5 separate regions of the Homo sapiens genome follow, and all the other regions are linked to region 4. The links are contacts of gene promoters, found by promoter capture Hi-C in blood cells and fetal thymus (Javierre and others, 2016). All regions are on one chromosome and are shown on one strand. Each heading gives the region's core, a stretch centred on a gene start or on the middle of the fragment in contact. The rest is flanking DNA. Distances are from core to core; before and after follow the strand shown.

Evidence for each region. Contacts are between HindIII fragments. The CHiCAGO score rates a contact against its expected background, and 5 or more counts as called.
Region 1: a contact is called between a fragment that was not itself captured here and the fragment with the promoter of FNDC3B in region 4, in 1 of 17 cell types (fetal thymus). The highest score is 5.1, in fetal thymus.
Region 2: a contact is called between a fragment that was not itself captured here and the fragment with the promoter of FNDC3B in region 4, in 1 of 17 cell types (fetal thymus). The highest score is 5.3, in fetal thymus.
Region 3: a fragment that was not itself captured here is called in contact with the fragment with the promoter of FNDC3B in region 4 in 1 of 17 cell types (neutrophils); the score reaches 5.3 in neutrophils.
Region 5: a contact is called between a fragment that was not itself captured here and the fragment with the promoter of FNDC3B in region 4, in 1 of 17 cell types (monocytes). The highest score is 5.2, in monocytes.

The regions. Positions count from the first base shown.
Region 1 is chr3:172,744,282-172,746,981 of GRCh38, reverse strand. No RefSeq gene overlaps it. Among named protein-coding and RNA genes, the nearest start is that of ECT2, 5.1 kb to the left of the region's middle. The HindIII fragment of the contact is 7,459 bases long and covers 1-2,700 here.
Region 2 is chr3:172,670,900-172,673,599 of GRCh38, reverse strand. All of the region lies in intron 1 of NCEH1 (neutral cholesterol ester hydrolase 1), which reads left to right. The region is part of intron 1 of LOC124909457 (a long non-coding RNA gene); the gene reads right to left. Among named protein-coding and RNA genes, the nearest start is that of NCEH1, 39 kb to the left of the region's middle. The HindIII fragment of the contact is 8,224 bases long and covers 1-2,700 here.
Region 3 is chr3:172,580,942-172,583,641 of GRCh38, reverse strand. All of the region lies in intron 2 of LINC02068 (long intergenic non-protein coding RNA 2068), which reads left to right. Among named protein-coding and RNA genes, the nearest start is that of LINC02068, 13 kb to the left of the region's middle. The HindIII fragment of the contact is 2,991 bases long and covers 1-2,700 here.
Region 4 is chr3:172,038,282-172,040,981 of GRCh38, reverse strand. FNDC3B (fibronectin type III domain containing 3B) reads right to left here and starts at 1,404. Exons shown (of 26, transcript NM_022763.4): 1 at 1,211-1,404. RefSeq lists silencers at 52-421, 482-731, 912-1,011, 1,152-1,331 and enhancers at 250-916, 917-1,584. The HindIII fragment of the contact is 7,479 bases long and covers 1-2,700 here.
Region 5 is chr3:172,698,495-172,701,194 of GRCh38, reverse strand. All of the region lies in intron 1 of NCEH1 (neutral cholesterol ester hydrolase 1), which reads left to right. Among named protein-coding and RNA genes, the nearest start is that of NCEH1, 11 kb to the left of the region's middle. The HindIII fragment of the contact is 5,162 bases long and covers 1-2,700 here.

The DNA.
Region 1 (2,700 bases), core at 147-2,646, 710 kb before region 4:
ATAGGAAAAATTACTGGGACTTTGATTAAATATAGAGGATGAGAGTGGAATCAAAATATGTAAAAATTACTACATCCATATAAATTTCTGATAAATAGCAGTATCATTAAATAAATAGAACAGTTTCCAAATTCAGAAGACTAGTTCTCTGTCTTTCTTCCTTTGATGAACCAGCCAATTAGATTCACAGTTCCTTGAATTTTTGAATCCCAAAACCTCAATTCAACACTTATTTTGATGGACAATATCCTAAATGTTTTACACTCAATTGCTTTAGCTCTCAAATGTTAACTTCAAACATTCCATTCTGATTACGAAATTTTCTTCCCATCTCTTAATCCCTTTCACACATGAATCAAGGATATTTAGCCTTCAGTTCCCCCTAATGATAGCACCCCTTTCTAACCCATGGTCATTAATTCAGCTGCTGAAAGACCACCACTTTCACTGTCTTACTTCTCTTCCTGCCTCTCTGATGTTTCCTTCTCGGTTTCCTTTGCTTAGATATTATTGTTCCCCAAAGTATTATTCTCAGGCAACCCCCTTTCCCTAGGTGAACTCATTCATTCCCAGGGATTTAAGTTATATGCATATGCTTCCACGTCTCTCTTTCTTGCCAGACCTTGTTGAAACCCACTCTATAATGCCAGTTGTTTACCAATTTTTTCTGCTCCTGTGACCCACAATCCTATCAAACTCTTCATGTGCTAAAGTGAATTCTTCTTTTCCCCAGCTCTCCATCCTTTATCTCCTCTGCCTCTTGTATTTCTCTCCTGATTAGTAGAATCCCCATTCACTCTGACTCCCAAGTTGGATCTCTCAAAGTCATCTTCCTGTTCCCTTCCTCCTCTTGGTCTCCCTGCACCACCAACCCCAACACCATTCTCCCAATTTGACCTGAAAAATATTTCTAGAATCTGAATCTTCCCCCTTCAGTCCACTGCCCGAGTTTAGGCCTTCATTATCTCTCATCCAAACTATGACAAGGACAGCCTTCTAGTTGGTCTTTTGGGAACTAATCACTCTCTCTACTTCCAGTCATCAGTCACAGAATTATCTTCATTTAGAAAACTAAATATGACTATGTATCCCCCTCCTTAAAAACAAAACTAAACCAAAAGACATGGTTTCTTCACTGCTCACAGAATAAAGTCCAGTATAAGATGGACTTCCCAAGATGACTGTAACCTAATTTTCTATCACCCTCATCCCTACCACATACGCACCCTGTGTTCAGCCATACTGAACTTTTCGTCAGTCCACAAACATTCCAGGCGATTTCCTAAATCCCTACCTTTGAATATTCTTTTCCACCTGCCCTGCCTCCCTCTGTCTGCATGAAAATTCCTATTCATTCAGGACCCCACTCAAGCATCACCTCAATGAAGCCTTCTTTGACTATCCCATGGAGAGTAAACTGCTTCTTCTGATTTGTATGAGCTTAATACTGTTTATACCTCAGTATGGCTCCTGTCACCTTGTATTGGAAATATTGGTTAACATGGCTGTCTCCTCTATTAAAATATGAGCTACTCAAGAATAGGGAAAAGAACCATATCCTTTCCATCTTTGTACCCTGGCACTTGTGCTCTCAAAAAATATCTATGGAGGCTGGGCACGGTGGCTCACCCCTGTAATCCCAGTACTTTGGGGGCTGAGGTGGGCGGATCATTTGAGCTCAGGAGTTTGAGACCAGCCTGTGGCAACATGGAGAAACCCCATCACTACCAAAACTACAAAAAATTAGCTGGGCATAGTGATGCACTTCTGTGGTCCCAGCTGCTCAGAGTGGGGGGATGGGGTGGGAAGGTCTCTTGAGCCCAGGAGGCAGAGGTTGCAGTGAGCTGAGATCAAGCCACTACACTCTAGCCTGGGCAGCAGAGCACGACCCCATCTCAAAAAAAAAAAAATTATGGAAAAGAGGAAAGAAGGGAAAATAACCAGATTTTTTAGTAGTTTGATTTCTGTCCATATCTTATTTCATGTCAGAGGCTGGCTGGGGTTTCTGCATCTTTTTTTTCCATCGGTAAATTAGCAGCCATGAATACTCCTTCTCTACTTGTTACTGTTGCTTTATCAATTGTTCATGATATCAAAATAGGTCAGTAAGTTCATGTTGACTTATTACTGCATATTTCTACTTATTAACTTGGTTACGGTTTTGTGTATAAATTGGAATAAATTATCTGCATACTAAATATTAGAACATGCTTTCTAACCCTATGTGTTTCTCTTGCTCTTTTTTTTTTTTTTTTTTTGAGGTGAGATGGAGTTTGCTCTGTCACTCAAGCTAGAGGGCAGTGGCACCATTATAGCTCACTGCAGTCTCAAACTCTTGGGAACTCCTGGGCTTAAGCAATCCTCCCACTTGAACCTCCCGAGTAGCTGGGACTATAGGTGTGTGCCACCATACCCACCTAATTTTTTTTTTTTTTTAATTTCAAGAGATGGTGTCTCGCTGTTTGGCCCACACTAGTCTCGAACTTCTGGGCTCAAGCAATCCTCCCACCTCAGCCTCCTGAGTCACTGGAATTACAAGGCATAAGCCATCACACCTGGCTAACCCTATGTTTCCTAAAAATATGTGATAACTCTTTCCCCATGATTATGGGGTATCTTAGCCCATTTCATTGCTATAAAGGGATACCTAGCTGGCCATACTGGCATGTGCCTGTAATCTCAGCTACTCAGGAGGCTGAA
Region 2 (2,700 bases), core at 173-2,672, 630 kb before region 4:
CTAATTTCCTGGTAATATTTTATAGGAGATATATTAGTGTTAAGAAAATGCCTTTCCTTTCAAATGGCAGCATGAGCATGGAAAATCAGGAAAGCATACTTGGAGTCAGTATAAATGTTAGCCACCTTTCCCTTGCTTAATTTAGGTGCTCTTGTAAGAGCTCTTAGCTCAGCCAATTGAGCGCTTGTGTTTGGGGAGAGTGACTACTGCCTCTCCTGCTTTATGTACCTCTTGCTTCACTGGCTGTTTGCCGGCTAAGAGCTCCCCCTAGAGGACAGTGATCCTGCCACATTATGTGGGGTGTAAACAGTTAAATTATTTCCTAGGGTTAACTAGGAGGCTTTTCTGACTAGTAGAGCTACTATGACAATGGCTTGGAAGCATTTGTAAATAGGTCCTCCTAACCACAACTAAGGTTGAGAAAAATATTGGATTAGAGTTTTTCTTGAAATGCCCCTTATAGTTGCGCTATAGGAAGAGAGGAGGCCTGGCTTAGAGAGGAGAAAAGAGAGAGACTGGGTCTAGTGTTTAGAAGGAGGTCTGCTTCCTTTTCTTCAATGTCCAGTATCACCTGGGGCTCCTATGCTATGATGGCAGTTTGAGCTGCTGGAGCTGAGGTTTGGGCCCCAGGACCCATCAGTCCTGTGGGACCATCTGTGAGACTGGCTCTGAACCCAGTGACCTCCATATCTGGGGACAGTTCTGTCTCCACTGGTTTTTGCCACTGGATGGACAGGGTTGAGGTGGCTTCGTCTTGCTGCCTGGGCATTCCTCTTTAAAATACCCTGGCCTGCCACACTGATAGCAACTAATGGATGCATCTTGGGGCTCCTGGACTTTGCCAGCCTGCAAAGCTGCTGCTAGAGCCTTTGTCCTTCCCCTGAGCTTTCTCTCTTTCTTTTGGGCCTCCTCCTGGTCCCTATTATAAAAGACCGAAGTGGCCCCCTTCAGGAGGTTCTCTAAGGTGCTATTTGGTCCCATAGCTTGCTTCTGTAGTTTTCTTCTAATATTGGGAGCTGCCTGTGTAATAAAACTGTCCTTCAGGATGAGCTGTCTCTCCACTGAATCAGGGGATAAAAGGAAGAGTGTTCTATTAGTGCCTCTATCAGCCTTTCTATAAAGGCCACAGGATTCTCATCTGGCTTTTGGTCTATTATAGACAGTTTAGAGTAATTGAGAGGTTTGGCCCTGGTTTTCCATAGGCCTTCTAAAACGCGTATTAAAAAGGGCTTCCTGGCCAGGTGCGGTGGCTCTCACTGTAATTCCAGCACTTTGGGAGGCTAAGGCAGGCAGATCACCTGAGGTCGGGCGTTTGAAACTAGCCTGTCCAACTTGGTGAAACGGTACTCAACATGTAGGCAATTATAATGCAGTGGTAAGTATTTGTAGATCTAATACTTGGTGAAACTTGGTACTCAGCACTGTAGGCAATTACAATGTAATGGTAAGTATTTGTATATCTAAACATAGAAAAGGTACAGCAAAATATGATACAAAAGATTAAAAAATGCTACCCCTGTGTAAGGCACTTACCGTGGAGCTTGCAGGAGTAGAATTTGCTCTGGGTGAATCAGTGAATGAGTAGTAAGCAAATGTGAAGGCCTAGGACATTACTATGCATTACTGTAGGCCTTATAAATACTGTACACTTAGGTTACACTAAATTTGTTTTAAAAATTAAGTAATTGCACTACAATGTCACAATGACAACAATGCCACTAGGTTATAAGAGTTTTCCAGCTCCATCATAATCTATGGAACCACCCTCATATATGTGATCTGTTCTTGAGCAAAATGTCATCATGCAGCACCTGACTATATGTAACAAGTATGTGTGTGCCTGTGTGCATGTGTGTATGTATATATACATGCTACATTTATATACACCTGATATGTGCATGTGTAATTATATATGTAACAAGTATGTGTGTGCCTGTGTGCATGTGTGTATGTATATATACATGCTACATTTATACACACCTGATATGTGCATGTGTAAATATATATACACACATGTAGCAGGTGTATATATAGGTAGCATATATATATATTTGTATATATATCTATATATGTGTGTGTGTGTGTGTGTGTGTATGTGTATGTGTGTGTAGCAGCGGTTTTGTGCTAGAACCAAGAGCCTGGAACTGGTACAATGAAAATATTTTACCCGAAAGGTATGCTAAGTAAAAGTCCCAAGTTTCACACATTTTTGAGGATCAAAGTGAAGAACTCAAAGTGAATTATTAGGTAATCATATCTACTTCTTCCTAAACCCTCCATCTGATTCTGTGCTAAAATTTAATAAATACCAACTGATCTTTCCATCTCCATAAAATTCTTTGAGTTAACGAAATCCTACTTTCTGGTTTCTGAAGGATGGTATTCTGCAAATGTAAAAGTTTCCCTTAACCTCCAAAAAATAATTGGGTTAATCCAGCTACCACAAGTGTGAAATTGAGAAGCTGCTTGCTAAGATTGAATTTAATATTGTCACATGTCATCTGAGAGCTGCTTGTCTGATCATGTTGCCACTGGACAAAGTAAGCCTTACTACAAAGGATAAAAGAATGATTATTTCAATATCCAGTCATAGTTCATCATCAAACTCTGAGTAAAATGGAGAGAAAAAGACGTTTTATCTTATATGACTATGCATTTCTCTGGGAAGTCATTTATCTGGTTACTATCTAGGAGAGCAAA
Region 3 (2,700 bases), core at 11-2,510, 540 kb before region 4:
TTTACAAAGAACTCTTAAAACTCAAAAATAAGGAAACAAATAACTAAATAAAATAGGCAAAAGACCTCAACAGATACCTCATCAAATAAGATATCCCAATGTCAAACATGCATATGAAGAGATATTCAACACCATATGTCATTAAGGAATTGCAAGCTAAAACAGCAATGAGATGCTACTGCATGCCTGTTAGAATGGCCCATATCCAAAACACTAATGACACCAAATGCTGACAAGATTGTGGAGCAATGTTGGTGGGAAGTCAAAATCGTACAGACATTTTGAAAGACAGTATGATAGAGGGAATGCTCACGTCTCCCTAAAATTCATATGTTGAAATCCTATCCCCCATGATGATGGTAGGGAGTGGGATCTTTGGGAGTGAATAGATCATGAGAGCAGGGCCCTCATGAATGGAATTAGCAGCCTTGTAAAAAAAAAAAAAGAAGACCCAAGAGCTAGCAAGTTCTTTCTGCCATATTAGGACACAGCCAGAAGACACCATCTATGAACCAGAGAGCAGGCTCTCACCCAATACCAAATCTGCCACTGCTTTGATCTTAGACTTCTCAGCCTCCAGAACTGTGAGAAATAAATTTCTGTTATTTTGGTATTTGTTAGCTACCCAGTTTATAGTATTTTGTTATAGCAGCCCAAACAGACTAAGAGAGACAATTTGGCAGTTTCTTATAAGTCTAAACATGTTCTTACTATGTGAGTCAGCAATCATATCCTTGGAATTTGCCCAAAGGACTTGAAAACTCATGTCCACACAAAAAGTTGCATATGGATGTTTACAGCAGCCTTATTCATAACTGTGAAAACTTGGAAGCAACCAAGATTTTCTTCAGTGGACGAGAGGGTAAAAAAAGTGTGGTACATCCAGACAATTGAATATTATTCAGCACTAAAACCAAATGAGCTATCAAGCCATGTAAAGACACGGAGGAAATTTAAGTGCATATTGCCAAGTGAAAGAAGCCAATCTGAAAAGGCTACATACTATATGATTCCAACTATATGCCATTCCGGAAAAGGCAAAACTAGGGAAACAGTAAAAAGATGAGTAGTTTCCAGGAGTTAGTGGGGAGACAGAGATAAATAGGTGAAGCACAGGGGATATTTAGTGCATCGGAACTATTTTGTATGATACTACAATGGTGGATACATGTCATTAGATATTTATCAAAATCCATAAGATGACCAACACCAAGAGTGAAGCCTCATGCAAACTATGGACCTTGGGTGATAATGATTCATTATAACAAATGTGCCACTCTGGTGTGGAATGTTGATAGTGGGAGAGGCTAAGCAGTTGTAGGGGCAGGGAATATATGGGCACTCTATTTCCTGATCAATTTTTCTGTGCATCTAAAAATGAACCTAAAAAATAAGGTCTACTAAACAACAACAACAAGAGGTGACAGTTTAGTTGACTGTTTGCTATCACCTATCAAGGATCTTCCCTTCTCAGCCAGGATAGGAAGATTTCCACCCTCCTGTGATACATCTTGTCTTGTACAAATCCAATTTAGGGTTTGTCCCATGTAAAACTTCATTTCCATAGACTAACTTCTAGAATAAAGACTTCTTGAGTCATTCAGAAACCTAACTCAAACTGGCTCAATTGAATGTGAGAATGTATCAGTTTATGTAACTAAAAAGTCTAGGGACTAAGATAAGGCTGCATTCAGGCATAATTAAATCCAAGTACTTAAAAGATGCAGTCAGAAATCAATCTCCTCTCTCTCTCTGTCTCTCAGTCTTCCACTCCATCTCCCACCTCCATGTTGACCTCATTCTTATGAGACCTCTCTCCATGTGGTAACATATGGGTATCAGCATCTCTAGACTCACATTCTGCCACTTAAGCTATACTTAGAAACAATAATCTTCTTTCTCAGAAAAATTCAAGCTGCTACCTCGATTGATAAACTGCAGCCACTTGTGCATGGCTTAAACAACTTTAGTCCATTGTTTCCAAAATTATATTTGCATGTCACTGGTGCTCCCTGAGATGATCTGGTAGTAAGCAAACATTTATTATAATACATGCCAGGGGCTAGAGGGGAGGGACGGATAAATAGGCAGAACATGGAGGATATTTAGGGAAGTGAAATTATTCCGATATTATATTGGTGAATGCATGCTGTTTTACATTTGTCACATGTATAATTATGTGTAAATTTTTATGCATAATAAAAAATAAGTAGTGCCTCAAAATTTTTTTTCTTTTGCTTGGGATGAGGCTGAAATAGGAAGGAAAGTAGTATTCATTTTACAGGATTAGGGTGAGTTTCAGATATGGTGATCAGGCATGTTCATGATCATTTTGTACCTTTACGAATCGAATTATCAAACAAGACTTAACCTGTTCCATGTAGTTGAAGTGCTGTACAGGCAGAAAAAATCTAGTCACTGTTGTATACTGAGGGGAAAATCTTAGGTTAAGTCCCTCAAAGATTCTGGAAAAATTTCATATGGTAATTCATAAGGCAATTTTTGAAAGGAAGTCAATATGTCACAAATTGAATGTAACTTTGAAAATCTTTACCCTACTTTGGAAAAAAGTATCATTTTAGTATAACATAAAATGAACTACATGACTGTCCTCTCCATGGTTAAATTCCTTGTCTGCCAACATTATATAACTGACTTTTGTTTCTTCTGATTTGTTTTCATGCAGTTAATTTTCAAGAG
Region 4 (2,700 bases), core at 155-2,654:
CGTCTGGGATGGCAGGGTGGGAGCTGAGATTCCAAAAGCTCCAACTCCGACCGCGCACTCCTGGAAGCCTCCCCGCCAAAGGCGCCGCCGGGCGGCGCAGCCCAGTCTCCCGAGACGGCGGGCCCGGGTCCTCCGGTTCCCACGGGACGCCGGGACCCGGACCTCTGGGAAAGTTCGCGGGCACAGCCCGAGGCCCCACTTTCTGCCGAGAGTGACAGGCCCTTCCCACGCCTGCCGGCCCCAGCCCAGCCGCGGGCACCAGACGGTCCGCGCGGCCCCTCCTGGCCGCCTCGGGGCGCAGATTCCGCCCGCCCGCCCTATCCCCGGCCGAGGCGCCCCTCGGGGTGACCGACTGACCGGAGCTCCGCTGGCCCACACACCGGGTCGCCCGCTCCTTCCCGCCGCGCCCCGCTCCCCCGCCCGAGCTTCCAGCCGCCGGCTCGCCAAGTCCGGCCGCGGCCGCCGGTTACCGCCCCCAGCCCGGGGGGAGCCCGGGGGGCAGGACGGGGAGGAGGACGTGGCGTGCTCGGAGGTGGCCAGCAGCGGGGCGGGGAGTGTCCCGGAGAGGCCCAGCCGGGGACGGGGGGGCCAGGCCGGCGCGGGCTCGGGACCCTCCCCGCGAGCATCCCCGGGTTCGAGGCCCCCGACCGCCCCCGCCGGCGCGGAGAGGCGGCCCCAACTTCCAGCCCCACTTCGCACTCCCGCCCTCTTCCCTCCACCATATGGAAATCTACAGCCTCAGAAAGTGACACGTCGAAGATTCCTCGGCCTCGCCGCCCGCCCTCCCCCTCCTGGGCAGCGTTCCTGCCGCGGAGATTCCGGGAGGGGGAGCGGATTCCTCGGACAAAATCTGCTGGGAAGGCTGGGGGTGGGGGGAGGCCGCGAGCCACTGCCCAATTTTTTTTAAGAGGAATCTACCCGTTTCTTTCACTCCTCCAAACCCTGAGGCAGGGGGCACAGGCGGGGGACCCCAGCCCAGCAAGGCGGGGGCCGCCCCCTCCCGGGTCCCGTGTTCCCGGGGTGCCCAGGCGAGCACGGGGCGCCCCAGCACTCCGGCGCCAAGTTTTTGCCGGGAAGCCCAGGGCGCTCCCGGGACAGGGACGCACTTTGGCGGACTCGGCGTCAGGCCGGGGCTTTCCAGTGCACCGGGACCCGGCGATCGCGCTCGGGGTCCCGGTCTCCTCTAGTCCCCGGCTCTTGCACGCCTTACCTTCCCTAGGGCTGAAACGCGGGGCTCTGGGCGCGCCACACACCGGGTCGCCCACGCCTTCCCAGCCGGCAGCCTGGAGGATCCCTGCCGCCCCCTTCGCTGCTCCCGCCGCCGCCGCTCTCCTCCTCCAGCCGCCGCCGCCGCCGCTCAAATAACTACCAGGAGGGTTTGATGGGGGATTCCGCCATGTCAATGATGTCGGGACCACATGGGGATTTGGGGCCCGCCCATTACCGTAAACCGCCGAATATACCGGCCGCCACAATCGCAGACTCGCAGAAGCTGTTGTCCCCCGGCCCTGCCTAGCTAAGCAGAAACTCCTTTTGGTTCAGCCAGACTAAAGAAACCTGAGGCTTAGGGAACTAACAACTCCTGAATGGCGAGGGCTGCGCGTTCTGCAGATCGCCAAAGTAATATAAAGGCAATGTTTACTCAGTGATAATTAAGCCTAAAACTGACTTTTTTTCATTTACACATATATTTCGCTTTTTGTTGTTGTTAACCCCCACAGCAACCTTGTGAGCTATATTACTCCCACATTTCCCACAGCATTTTATTCATACAACTAACATAGTATGAGCAATTTTTATTATACTTAAGTTAAAATCTCTCTTTCCTCTTTCTTTTTGTTTTTTGTTTTTTGTTGTTGTTGTTGTTTGTTTTGGGGACTGCAGGCACGGGGCAGGCATGAGCCACCGCACCCTTTTTTTTTTTTTTTTTTTTTCCTTTTTTGGAAGAGAGGGGGTCTCAATAGGTTGCCCAGGCTGGTCTGGAACTCTGTCGCTCAAGTGATTCTCCCGCCTTGGCCTCCCAAAGTGTTGAGATTACAGGCGTGAGCCAACTCACCCAGCCTTATTTCACAATGCGTTTCTCAGGGACAAAGACTGTTTCTTACTTTTATCTTTATATCCGTAAAATATAGCACAGTGCAAGGACCACAATAGGACTCATTAAATAACTGTTGAGTTCATATTAAGTCAAATGTAATGTATTTCTGTTGTACAGGCTCTAAGAGGTTAACAGACTGCATCCCATGCCACCCCTCAGATTATTCAGGAGACAAGAGAGCAAAAGTTAGCCTAGAGAAGCCCCTTCCATCCATAGCTGTCCAGGTATTCTGAATAGCTACATTCAGCCTCAACTATTAAGCTACAAAGGAGCATTCAGGGAGTCACTAGAGACAATGTATTACTTTTGTTAACCTAAAAAATAATAATAGCAGTACATAATACTCTGTTAAAGTCTAAAGAACACTAAGAAATAGCTCCTTCCTTCCCTTGTTCATTTGCCATTCTTTTGGGGAGATTTTAGCCTTTTTTTTTTTTTTTTGGAGGCAATGGTGAGTCCAGAGAAATGGGGACCTCTCTCCTAAATGGCTTATTTACTGTGGAGCTCCTCAAAGGGGAACTTGAAGCCATCTTTCTATAACATAACTCCAATTCTAGGTCATAGTCCTGCATGAGAAGCCGGGGCGGGGGGTAGGCAGTAGT
Region 5 (2,700 bases), core at 20-2,519, 660 kb before region 4:
GGACTAGTCCAAGGATGGCTGATCATAAACAGCTGCATATACAGATCCAGAGCTCAGGAGACAGAGCTGGGCTGGTGATATGGATTTGGGAGTAGTCAGCAAATGGATAGTGGCAGAAGTAGTTGAAATGAATGTGTTTGGAGTGACAGTAAGATCTGGAGGATTTTACCAAGGGTGCCCCTCAGGGACACCAGTGGCAAGTGGAAAAAGAGGCTATCCCTGAGAGAAATGAGACCTTAACATAACTTTTTAGTATACCTCATATTTATAAAGTACTCTAGATTTTATGAAGGTTTTTACTAATATCACCTCATTTCATTTTTTTTTCAATAAATAACTGGTTGCCATTGTTATTTCCATTTGTCAGCTAAGGGAACTTGAGGTTCAGAAAGGCTCAAGGACACCATCAAGATCGTATGATCAGGGCCAGGCACGGTGGCTCACACATGTAATCCCAAGGCAGGAGACCCCTTGAGGCCAGGAGTTCAAGACCAGCCTTGGCAACAAAGTAAGACTGTCTCTACAAAACATAGTTAGCCAGATGTGGTGGCACATGATCTCAGCTACTGGGGAGACTGAGGATCTCTTGAGCCTAGGAGGTGAAGGCTGTATGATCACACCACTACACTCTAGCCTGGGTGACAGAGCAAGACCCTGTCTCTTAAAAAAATTTTTTAAATTTAAACATGTGATCAGTTATGCTGGCGAAATGGGAACTGCAATAGAAATTCATGGACTCTTAGTTTCATGCCCTCCCTGCTGGGCTATGCTGTGAGGACACTCATGATAACTTAGTCACTAGTGAATTTTTTGTCCTGATTTTTTTTTTGAGCTCCCACAATTAATCTATATCAGTGCTTCTTCTTATTTTTTGTGTCATAGAAACAATTACATTTGTATAGTATACTGGGGATTCTGGAAGCAATTTTGGGGAAATCTGTATGAGCTTGAATAACAGAATTCACAAGATTTATAAAGAGTTACACAAATGGTTCTCAAATAGAATGCCAACTCTGATGCCAATTATTCAACTCTGTATAGTTATACAAAATGGCTTTAAGTTTTTACCTCTATAAAATATTTAAACATTGATAGCTAGTGCCCCATCTGTAATCCATTTGTAGAATACCTATTGGGAAGCTCACCTTTCTCCAGTTTGTAACTTTTAAAATATATGTCTGTTATCATTGTTATTAAACACAGATAGATAGTCCCCAAGTTACATGTATTTAGGTAGCCGTATAATTTATTGTCCAAACCAGGACATTTTTGAGAGTAGCAGGGACTGCTATTAATAATCATGCTAGGTCAACAGTGTTTTTTTCTTTGTTTTGAGACAGGGTGTCTGTGGCGCAGGCTGGAATGCAGTGGTATGATCGTGGTTCACTGCAACCTCTGCCTCCCCAGGTTCAAGCAATCTTCCCACCTCAGCCTCCCAAGTAGCTGGGACCACAGGCATACACCACCATGCCCAGCTGATTTTTGTATTTTTTGTAGAGATGAGGTCTCCCTATATTGCCAGGGTGGGTCTTAAACTCCTGGGCTCAAGTGATTCTCTTGTCTCAGCCTCCCAAAGTGCTGGGATTGCAGGTATGAGGCACCATGCCTAGCTCAGTGCAATGGTTTTAAACCAGAGTGATTCTCAGTCAAACCTGGACGGATGCTCAGGCTGCATTTATTTGACTTGCACACATTTGGCCTAATCAAGTCAAGGCTGTGAAATGATCCCTCGTTCCCAGTCCTGAGTGCTCCAATCTGACTGTTAATCCTCCAGTTACCACTCCTCCACCCCACCCGCACTTCCTATCCCCTGTAGAATAAAAGTGCTAAGTTCCTTGGCTGGCACTTGGTGCTTGCTACAACCTGGCACCATTTTGCTGACTGCAGCCTCACTGTGTCATGGATGACAGTTCAGCTCGTGAATCTGCTTACGCTTCTCCTGTTGTCCCCTCTGTCCCAGATGCCCTCCCACCCTTTTACTTTGGGCAATATCCCACGCATCGTTCAATACCAACTCAGAAATCATCTCTTTTGAGAACTTCCCCGTCTCTTTCCCTCTCACTGCCCTTCCTTGGCCTTAATTTCTCTCTCAACACTCTGCTAGCGTTTTGGTTTTCTTTTATGGCCCTTAGATGTTGCTTATGTTGCTACTTATGTACAGGCTCCCCACCAAATCATAAATTTTCTCTCCTATCATTGACATAATTTTCCTCTTACTGCTTTAGGACTTTTATTTTTGTTTGAAGACCATTCACGATAGAGAGACTAAAGAGAAATTAGGAATTCATGGTTCTGCTTCCATTATCACTGTGTTACCGCGTCTGTCGCAAGGGGCAGGCCCTGTGCTTCCACGTGCTTCTGACTCTGAATGTAGCCAAAAATGGTTTTGTGTTGTCCTTCACAACTGTGTTTTGCAAGCCTCGCTGTTTTCTGGGTTTCTAACTTCCTCATGTTTTAATAGATTTATGCTTGTTTTCAAATTTGTCATGAATTATGTGTCTGTTTCTGACTAAATGTTAATTATAGGACATCTCCTTAAAAGAACACTGGTGATTTTCCACATTTGATAGTCATCTGCCTTTTCTTTTTCCCCTTGAATAGGATAGTTGATAAATACCCCATGAGAGATTGAGAGACCCTTTTCAGAGCTGCCTGTCCCATAATGTTGTCCCTGCCCTGAGACTCAAACTATCTTTCTTT